Regions from separate parts of the Homo sapiens genome. Here regions 2, 3 and 4 are each linked to region 1. Evidence: promoter capture Hi-C in 16 types of primary human blood cells and fetal thymus (Javierre and others, 2016). All regions are on one chromosome and are shown on one strand. Each heading gives the region's core, a stretch centred on a gene start or on the middle of the fragment in contact. The rest is flanking DNA. Distances are from core to core; before and after follow the strand shown.

The links. The method cuts DNA at HindIII sites, captures the fragments that hold promoters and counts their contacts. A CHiCAGO score of 5 or more calls a contact.
Region 2: a fragment that was not itself captured here is called in contact with the fragment with the promoter of SPATA1 in region 1 in 2 of 17 cell types (megakaryocytes and erythroblasts); the score reaches 5.9 in megakaryocytes.
Region 3: a fragment that was not itself captured here is called in contact with the fragment with the promoter of SPATA1 in region 1 in 1 of 17 cell types (erythroblasts); the score reaches 8.4 in erythroblasts.
Region 4: a contact is called between a fragment that was not itself captured here and the fragment with the promoter of SPATA1 in region 1, in 1 of 17 cell types (M0 macrophages). The highest score is 6.3, in M0 macrophages.

The regions. Positions count from the first base shown.
Region 1 is chr1:84,505,115-84,507,651 of GRCh38, reverse strand. It overlaps SPATA1 (spermatogenesis associated 1), which reads right to left and starts at 1,266. Exons shown (of 14, transcript NM_001397487.1): 1 at 1,234-1,266. GNG5 (G protein subunit gamma 5) reads left to right here and starts at 1,071. Exons shown (of 4, transcript NM_005274.3): 1 at 1,071-1,216; 2 at 1,351-1,641. The coding sequence starts at 1,561. RefSeq lists silencers at 1,346-1,425, 1,676-1,805. The HindIII fragment of the contact is 7,618 bases long and covers 1-2,537 here.
Region 2 is chr1:83,910,798-83,913,334 of GRCh38, reverse strand. It overlaps TTLL7 (tubulin tyrosine ligase like 7), which reads left to right. Exons shown (of 21, transcript NM_024686.6): 15 at 1,972-2,170. Among named protein-coding and RNA genes, the nearest start is that of LINC01725, 51 kb to the right of the region's middle. The HindIII fragment of the contact is 3,816 bases long and covers 1-2,537 here.
Region 3 is chr1:83,927,577-83,930,113 of GRCh38, reverse strand. It overlaps TTLL7 (tubulin tyrosine ligase like 7), which reads left to right. Exons shown (of 21, transcript NM_024686.6): 10 at 884-978. Among named protein-coding and RNA genes, the nearest start is that of TTLL7-IT1, 55 kb to the left of the region's middle. The HindIII fragment of the contact is 745 bases long and covers 903-1,647 here.
Region 4 is chr1:85,056,332-85,058,868 of GRCh38, reverse strand. No RefSeq gene overlaps it. Among named protein-coding and RNA genes, the nearest start is that of DNAI3, 4.7 kb to the left of the region's middle. The HindIII fragment of the contact is 3,131 bases long and covers 1-2,537 here.

The DNA of each region.
Region 1 (2,537 bases), core at 17-2,516:
TGAATGACGTTTTAGCATTATACAGTCAACAAAGCACCAAAGGTGAAATAATTACAATACCTTTTGGGAAAAGACAATATTTATTGAGATAGCTTTCACATTCTTTTTACATATAATGTCATTTCATTCCGAAAAACAACTCTACGAAGCTGTATAATTTACTTTGAAATAAGGAAATAAAGCCTCAGTAACTTAAGTGGCTTGCCCAAGAATACCGTAAGTAGCAGAGCCAGAATTCAAACCCTGGTTTTAACCCCAATCATTACATCCGTATGAATTAAGTAAAATGCTAAACTTACGATGTACATTTTTGCGAACTGATATAAACTGTTGAGTAAATAAATTAGATTTTGTTGACCAGTGCAATTACACATGCTTCCCTAATAAAAAATTTGAAATCCATTAATGATAAAATTATTAACATTAATGGAAAACATCAGCGCATTCGGAGATTGACTACCCGAAAAGAAATAGGAAACATCTGCCCTTAGTGCTGTGACATAACACACATATTTCCGTGGATGAAAGAAAGACCTACTGGCTGAGCCTATTTTGTTTGGTTAGACCCTACCCTCTCTCCTAAAAACTCCTTTGGTACTCAATTTCAAGCAGGAGGTAATAAATTACAACGGAAATACTAAAGAGCAAACTTTCCGGAAACACAAAAATAAGTTTTATTTTAAAAAGTACAATAAGCATTAATTCTCCAGAGTAAATGGGTAACCGAGCAGACAGGTGTAATCTTCAGCCAGCACCTTGGCTTCTTCACAATCTCCTTCAGAAAAACCGATTCAAGAGCTAAGAAGCCAGTAAAGTCAAACCTCGAGAAGATCCCTTCTCCAGCGAATCAGCGCCCCTGCTCCCCGCCCGCCCGGCTCCGCTGGGTACGCGACAGCGACCTCCGCGCCTGCTCTCCGCCTCGGGTCAGCGGGGCTGGGGGTTGGGGGTGGAACTGAAAATGCCTGTTGGCCAAACTCGGGTCACAGAGAGACACGCCTGTACGGGGCGGGGGTGTGCGGGTGACTCACGCCGGGTGCACAGTAGCTCCTACGCCTCACCCAGTATCTCCCCTCACTTCCCTCAACCCTTCCCACAAACTGGGAGGAAAACTGAGACCTCCTGGTCACCCGCCGCCGGGCCTTTTAGAAACTCCCACAAGCTCTGCCTTCCCTCCCTGGTCCTCTTCAGACCCCCTCTTAGTTCTTCGCGGCTAACGGTAAGCTCTCTCCTTACCTCTCCCTAATCGGCCCCTCTGGAGAGGAAAAGAAAACTTAAGAGTCGGGTCGCGCTAGCCTCCAGCAGCCGCCGCGCCCACCGACTGCTCCGCCCCTTCTCCTCCCCCTCCTCCAGGCTCGCGCTCGGGGCCGGGTGTGGAGCTGGAACAGAGGGCTGGCAAGGCGCGCATGCGCACCGAGGGTGGAGCCGCTGAGCACAGAACCGGAAACTTAGAGACAAAGTTCGGAGCCCCGCCCCCGCCGCGCGCCGCTGAGTTGTCTGGCCCCGCCGACCCACGGCCCACGACCCACCGACCCACGAATCGGCCCGGCCGTCGCGTGCACCATGTCTGGCTCCTCCAGCGTCGCCGCTATGAAGAAAGTGGTTCAACAGCTCCGGCTGGAGGCCGGACTCAACCGCGTAAAAGTGAGCGGGGGCGGGCGGCCGAGGCGGGAGGAAGGCGGCGGCGGCGGGTGGGATCCGGCGGCCCAGCTGGCGGGGGCGGGCGGGACACGCGCCGGCCCTCGCTTCCCCTGGAGAGGACGCGCGCTCAGCGGCGGCGATCGGGGAGCGGCCAGCTTTAGAGCAGGCGCCGCGTGGGTCTACGCTGTGTTTTAGGGGGACGATTAGTTCGCCCTTCCGCCCCAGGACTTTCCGAGGCGGGCTGGCCCCTGGGTTGAACCGTGGCCGACATTCCGGTCCTCCTCCGTCTCTACCTCCCTTGGCAGCCTTCTCGGCTGGTCTCACCAACAGCTGCGCCTCCGCGCGCTGTCCGCACCCTTCCTTTCCCACTTTGCCAGCCTCCTGTTTCTCATCGGACAGGGTATTTTCCGACTTTTGATTCAGAGCAGACTTTTCTCCCATTTGATCTTTCCCAAACCTACTTCCTTTAGTATTAAATTCTTACCTTCAACTTCTCTTGTCCGTTGAACACATACTTTTAAGCGAATTATTGCATAACTTAAACTGTGGATTGAATAAGCATTTTTCGAAACGATCCTGGAGTGTAAAGTTCCGGTCAGTGCCCCGTACAACCTCGAACAAAGCGTGCATTTCATACCTATGGCACAGTTTGCTCATATTTGACCTTGGGGATATCGACTGGTCCGCATGCCGGAGAAAATGATTATTGTGGGTAATTATTGGTCTTATTTTGGCGTCTGGTTAGTATTGGCCTTGTCTTGGGGTACTTTGGGAGAAAAAGCCTTTTGTCTGTGTTGATAGAATAACTTGACATTCAAGTGCTGTTCTAAGTATTTCCTGATTTTTACAGTCCTAAATGGATTGGCTTCTTTCTGGTACAATAGGTCAGGCTACATGTG
Region 2 (2,537 bases), core at 21-2,520, 590 kb after region 1:
TCTTTTTATTAAGCTGGGTGATAGGCATGTGGGTGTTTATTCTTCATATATTTATACATTTTTTATATATAGCCTACTTCATAATAAAATTGGACATAAAAAATAAGTAGTATGGTTGTGCCATAACTCAATGCCAGTTTACAAATTCCATTTTGTAGTTAAGACACTATTTAGAGTTTATGTTGCTGTGACTGCTAGTTAATTATTGCTTGAACAGTGTGTTGGTCAAAAAGTCCCAAGTGCATATAAGACACAAAGGCTCAGCTGTACGTTTCCCCTTGTGATTCTTTATAGGGTCGAATAACTCATTATGTAGTCAAGCTCTTTAAGAACACTTAAAGCTGTTTGCTACATGAAGGAAGGCACTACTAGCAAGCCTGATTGTGCCACTCTTTCTTCTGGGTATGCTAAACTTCTGAGGAAACAACCTTCCTCTAGAATTCATATTCCCCAAGATTGTCAAAATGTTTGATGATTGTGTTACTGGTAAATGTTTTTATGCATATCTCTTTGAACATTGTCAGTACTTAGTAAATATTAGACCATCAGAAGGAGCACATGCTTTTAAACACAAGTTGGTACCTTAGTGAATTAAACTACTTTCCTGCTTTGGTTATTTTTCATCCTTTGCAAAGACTGTAAATTTAAGAAGATCATGCTTTTTGGCTCACTCTGTATTCCAGGCACTTCATGAAATGCTATTTCTGTCTTTATTTTTATTCTACACTGTTACACTAGAGGGTATACCTTCTTTCAGTGAAATCCCCATGCTATCCAAGGATTTCATTATAGTGTATGCTAACATCAAAACATTTTTGTTTGATTTAACAGAAAACAAGCAACTAGTATACAACTGAAGGAACCTCTCCCATCAGGAATAGGAGGCATATGGTGTGTGTAATAAATAGTCTCTTAGAATGACTGAGTTATAAAACTGTCTTGTTCTTGGTTATGCACATTCTTTCTGATGTGAAGCTGTCCCACGTCCCTTTCCTTCCATTCCTTCAGCTGGCATCATTGGAAACACATTGATTGGGAGGACTAGAAACAAGTGATTCTAATAGGGATGGTAACACGTAACAGCATGGCATTTTCAGTCTTTACAGATCTTCCATTCTCTATTAGAGAAATTTATCCTTCCTCCATGAAAATTTACCCATACTGATCTTCATATTATATTATTAATTTTTAAAATGTAGCATGGGCAATGAAAAGTTATGTCACTCTATTATGGCCAGAAGCTACGTGCCAGAGTTAGGAATACTCTGAGAAAAGACATCAGTTGTTCTTGAGCAGTTTGGAAAATGGACAGTTAACTAAAAATTTTATTTTTATAAATATCCACAGCCAGTTAGTCTTGTAAGGGATACCTAACTTCTTCCTGCACATTGTCTGAATGGATAGGCTCACAGGCAATGTTTTAGTATTCTTATTCTCTTTATCCTTTTTGTCTCTCTTTCTCCTCCCACCCCCTCACACACACAAACACAGACACACACACACCACACACATACACACACAGATGCACTTGCACGTGCACATGCATACACATTTATTGAGTAACTCTGAACGTTAATGATAAGACAAAGGTAGATCTCTGAGTCTTGATGAGTAATCTCTTATGGAATGAAAAAAGCTGATTATATTTCTTATTTTTATATTTTTATCTCAAATATTTTCCCTTTATTTTGTTATTCTTTGTTTATGGATACTCTGGCCCTTTATTCCAATCATGTAGGAACAACATATTCCTCATCATGACTATATCATTTAAGAAAGAATATTTTGCAGAAACAACAATCAATGCATAGCACTGTAGGCTAAGCAGCATGGCAGCAATAGTATTTGGGGGGATTCTCAACCTTCAGTAAAAAGCAGCAAGCATAGGGGGAAATTAAAAATAGTAACTAATCATATCAATAAACCTTTTTTAAGAATTCTAACAAAATAACACATTTCCATCTTTTTTAGCCTCTGTGTTCTATGCCTGAGAGTACTGAGATAATGAAAAGACCAAAGTACTGCAGCAGTGACAGCAGTTATGATAGTAGCAGCAGCTCTTCAGAATCTGACGAAAATGAAAAAGAAGAGTACCAAAATAAGAAAAGAGAAAAGCAAGTTACATATAATCTTAAACCCTCCAACCACTACAAATTAATTCAACAACCCAGTAAGTCAATTTCTTCTAATTTAGATGTTATATAAAGAATTATGGAACTGAAATTATTAAACTCAGTAAAAGGTCCTTGGGCCAAATGAACCCTGTTGTGTGTGAGGAGACCTGGATTCCATCCCACTTCCTTCCCTAACCAGACTCGGGCACATCCCTTAATTAAGCCCTTTCAAGATCTGCAAATAGAAAACGAAAGGGCTGGATTAAGGATCTATTCTATATTTCATCGTTTTTGTTAGGTGCCAGATTTTTGCCTGGGTTTTGTAAAATGTGCCTCATGGCTGATCTGATGATTATGTGTCTCTTAAGCCAATATATTCTCTCTCATTCAATTTCTGCCTCTCTACTTCCTTCACCCACTTTG
Region 3 (2,537 bases), core at 26-2,525, 580 kb after region 1:
TCCTTAGTTTTACTTATTTTTCTGCGGTGAACCTGTGACACATTTCTAATTAAAGATGTTGTATTCCTGGGTAATTTCTTGATTATAATGTGATATTTCTTCAGGTGCAAGTTGTGGAATGAATGCTTTCAATTGTTTTGTCTCTTGTGGTGACAGATGTGTATAACTGTGACTAGTAGCATATATACATATGTTTGAGATAGCCTAAGGGATTAGTTGGTGGTCAAGAAGCTAAGCTGTTGTGTTGAACTCAGCAGTGTTCTAACCAACCGATTTAACTGATTAAGAAATTTTCTTAAACATCAGCTATTCCAGTTATATTTTTATAACAATGACAATAGTAACAAGACTCAACAAAGACAAAAACAAACACTCCAGCTCTTTTATTTTTCATCTTAATGAATTCCTGAAGATCTGAGGCAGTGAAAAGGGAGCACTGATAGTTTCCATATTTTAAATATATAGATGTATATAATTATTATTGTGTTGATATAATTATTACTGTGTTGGTAACATGATGAATATCACTATTTCCTTTTTGTTAGGCTAAATCACTTTTAACTTTCCTAAACTTAAAAAACCTAAATTGCATGGGGTAGTGGAGAGAGTGGAATGGAGGGAGAGGCCAGCCTATACTGACAGTAAAGCTCCTAAACTAAGGCAGCCTTGGGAAGGAGATGGTGCTAATAGTCAATCCCTTGCAATTTGTTGACCTAGGGTGATGCAGAATGGAGATGTGGCAATAACAACTGGGCCATCTGCCATGTAAAGCTTTGAGGTTTAATGTAGAGTTGTTCTACTGGCTAGAGATCCCACATTGGATTAACAAATATGTATTGAATATTTATTTACCTTCCAATATTGTCTTCTTTGTAAATTTCAGATTAACCGAGCCCCAAGCTTTGGAACTGATCAGAAAATAGACTATGATGTAAAAAGGGGAGTGCTGCTAAATGCGTTGAAGCTACTAAACATAAGGTAAAATACTCTCTCTATCTTTTGGACATTTATCTCCACATTTGACATAGATTAATCATTTGTACATAAAATTGGCTTTTCAGAATAGTATATTTATTTTTATATTTTATAATTTTCATTTCTTGATTCCATCCATTTTGTATTTTTCATTTCTTGGTTCCATCCATTTTGTATTTTTCATTTCTTGATTCCATCTATTCTTTAAACTCATATAGTTAAAAAAAAAAATCTGTCCCCCCTACTCCTGTATACTGCTTTTCCTGCTTCCCAGGCAACAGTCTGTACCTGCAGTAAATGAGGTTAAATTTCAATGTAGGTATAATTATTTAATATAGAGTACAAGATTAAATTGGTAAATACTTTAAGAGACCCTCTAGATTATCTTCCTCATCTTATAAGAAGAAACTAAAGCACAAAGAGTTCATTCAGGAAATTAAAAAAAAAACTCAAACATGGATTTCCTAACTTTCTCTCCAGAGGTCTTCCCATTACATCATGCTCCCCATGTAAATAAAAAAGAGAGGCAGTTGTTTAGTGAGAGTTAACTTTTCCATTTAGAGAGGCAAGTAAAATTTGAGAAAAAACTTGGCTGGTAGGGATGTAGGGCTGGTTGCAGTGTACATGATCATGGGATTCAAATATTTGAAATGCTGTTATGTGGGAAAAGCTTTTGGCTCATTACAAAATGAATTTTTTAGATGTTTGACTGAAACACTTCCTGAAATAGTGAGTTACCTGTCATTAGAAATTTTCCAACAGAGCTTAGAGTATTGGATTAAAGGGCCTCTGAGGTGATTTAAGCTCAGTGATTTTATGATTTCAATTTATTTAATTGTCATTCAAGAGTTCTAGCAGAGTTATGGTATGCTTCCAAGCAATTTTTAAATTTAAGATGTTTCCAAACAATATGCCTATACATGTTTTTTGCATGAAAGTTTACTATTATTATTTAAATAAGCCTTGTGTTTAGTTTTTTTGTTGTGTGTGCATGTCTTTTGACGTTGCCATTTATGGTATCAATTCAGGACATTATCTGTGGGTGTTCTGGTGTTTTTAAAAGTGAGGTATGTATAGTTTAAGCAGTCAGAAATTTCTAGACTTAAAACTAAGGGAAAGTAGAAATTCATTTTCTTTATCTTTCTTAGTGTTGTTCCACAGAGAATTTAGCACAGTTCTTAACATTTAGAGCATATGCTAATGAGGCTTATGCTTCAGAAGTGCCTTCTTCCTCCAGCTGGGTGGAGAGCTCCATGGGTGCATGTGTTAGACTTGAGTTTCACTGGGCACATCACAGTATCTTAAGCAGGAACTAAGAACACTGGGAAAATTCTTGTCTATTTATTAAATAGAATTAATTTTCTTATGGAGTGCTTTAATTTTGGACAGAACGAATTGTTCTGTGAATCTAGAAATCCCCTACTTAACATTAATTTTAATCAGACTATTGGGAATGATCTTACTTTCATTATGTTATCTTTCTGCTCAAGAACCTAAATAGAATTCTGTTTACCAACATGTAGCCTAAGCTTCTAATATAACTTAACCTTAGCTGTTCTATC
Region 4 (2,537 bases), core at 13-2,512, 550 kb before region 1:
AGCTAGTGAATGTGTCCATGCTTTTCCAGGGGAGGTTGAATTGAATTTCCCTGAAACTTGAAGATATGTAAAAATTAGTTTTAGTTTTATTGATTGAGTGAACATCTAAAGAGTCAAGAAGTCATAATTGAAAATATTTCTCTGATTCTTTAAGGACATCTTGATAAGTTTCAGATTGGGTTTACAAAAGGACAATCTGATAAATTGATATGAGGTAGATTTTTACTAGTTATTTTGGTGAGTGACTCATTCTTTTTATGGATTTTTTTAAAAAGTTAGCTCAGAAACTAGGCGTGGAGGACCCTATTTTATGTCTGGAAGGGAGAAATGTTCTTGTTTGAGCCCTAAACTGCTGGGATTACTACATATTTTCCAAGCACTTGGGGAAACTACCACAACCTATTGCATGAGGAAGTGAGAATCATCTGAAGAGTACTCAGCTTCAGAAAGGAGAAAAAGAGACAAAAAAGCCTGACCCTGGGACAAAGATTTAGCTGTTGGAAGAAAGGGCCAATTTTGGCAATTCTAGAAAAAAAAATGGACTAGAACATCAATGAGAAATTAGGATCTATACAACATTAAAGTCAGGAGAAAGGCATTCTTAACTGCACAGAATAGCTTGAGTCTACTGGGGACTAAGGAGGACACAGGCCCCATGTGGCTCCAGAATTGCTGGTCCTTCCCATAAGAGAAGGCAGGGCTCTAGCACTCATCTGCAGTCTTCAGGCAGTAGATATCTCCAGAAGGGCCAAAGCAAGAGCTGTGGAGGTAAAAACAGGGCCATGTGGTAGCAGAGTGGACTTACTTGTCAGTATGGCTGAGACTTAACTCTCTACACCCAGAAATAGTTGGTGGTGGGAGAATCATTGTATGGTAGTGACAGTCCTACAATATCATAAAGCATTAAAAGCCAGTGAATATCAGTTCTACATGTATAATTTTTATTGTCATTAGAGCACTTAAATATTTTTTAAAGTGAAGTCACTCAAATATTGTATTTAAAGTAAGGAAATTATGTTGAAGCCTAAATTTGTCACTTTCTGCATAGGTGGCATTAGACAAGTTATTAAACTCTCTAAATCTCATCTGCAAAATTTGAGATGATAATGCTTTCATCAGAGCCAGGCCAGATAAAGGGCAAGAGCAACCACATTGAACAACTAAGGGTGAGGGCAACCAATGCTGCCCTAAGGGGCATTCTTCAAAAGATACCAAACTTCCCTGTAGTGAATTGTGAATAGGTTGTCAGTTAGTTTGGGTTTCCATAGGGAAATTTTTACATGCCAGGAGAGACATAAATGTATTCTTCTCTCAACCAAATAGCTTCAGATATGAAATAAAATCTATGTTGAAAAATTTTGCCATGTAAAAGTACCAATCATGAGGGTCAACCAAAAGGCAATACTCCCATTCCTGAGTTCAGCCTGCGTTGATACCTACATTTTGATTTAATTTTTTCAAGATGGAGTCTTGCTTTGTCACCCAGGCTGGAGAGCAGTGGCATGATCTTGGCTCACTGCAACCTCAGCCTCCCAAGTTCAAGCGATTCTTGTGCCTCAGCCTCCTGAGTAGCTGGGATTATAGGTGTGTGCCACCACGTCCAGCTAATTTTTTTGTATTTTTAGTAGAGATGGGGTTTCACCATTTTGGCCAGCCTGGTCTTGAACTCCTGACCTCAAGTGATCTGCCTGGCTTGGCTTCCCAAAGTGATGGGATTATGGGCATGAGCCACTGTGCCCGGCCTGATACTTATATTTTGAATAGTTCAGCACTCTCCCCAAAAGTTGTCTAGTTTGGAAAAGTGTGTTTTTAATAAGTTGTTTCAAATGTAAAGAAAGAATATATATGTTTATTAACAAAAATCAGTTTTTCCCTATTTCCACTAGAAAAACAGTGAACACATTTTTAAGGGGTATTAGTATGAACAGATACCAAATTACTAGCCTGTCCAGATTGCCCACAGATTTTAATCTGTCCCTTCCTCATAGCATTGCCATGAAAAACCAGATAGTGCTTCAAATGTGGCATATTCTCAATGAATAGCTGTGGAACCAGAATTAATCAAAATTCTGTTCAAAATGAATGTATAGACATTACTTCTGTCCTTTGGTGACTATTAAAAGTAGATTTGAGTATCCAACTGTCTACGAGACATTTCCACTTGGATGTTTAATACATAGTTATCTAAAGCCTGGCCTTTCCTTCAATGCCAGCCAGGAAATATTTGCTACTAGACCACTAGTTTATGAAATAATTGTTACCCAGCTGCAATAAAAGTAGTACTGAAATTGGGTGTTTAAAAACTTTTTAGCAAATTGACACAGTAACTTTATGTTATGTATGAACAAAATTGAGATTCGTATTACAAACGTCCTTATTTCATTCTTTTAGCAATTTATTTATGTTGTAATTTTACAGAATTATTAGTCTGTGAAAGAAATGAAAACAAAACCAAGTCAACTAACCCTTTAACAGATAGTCTGAGAAGCACTTTACAGACATCTCAAAAACACACTAAAAACTGAACTGCTGGTTCT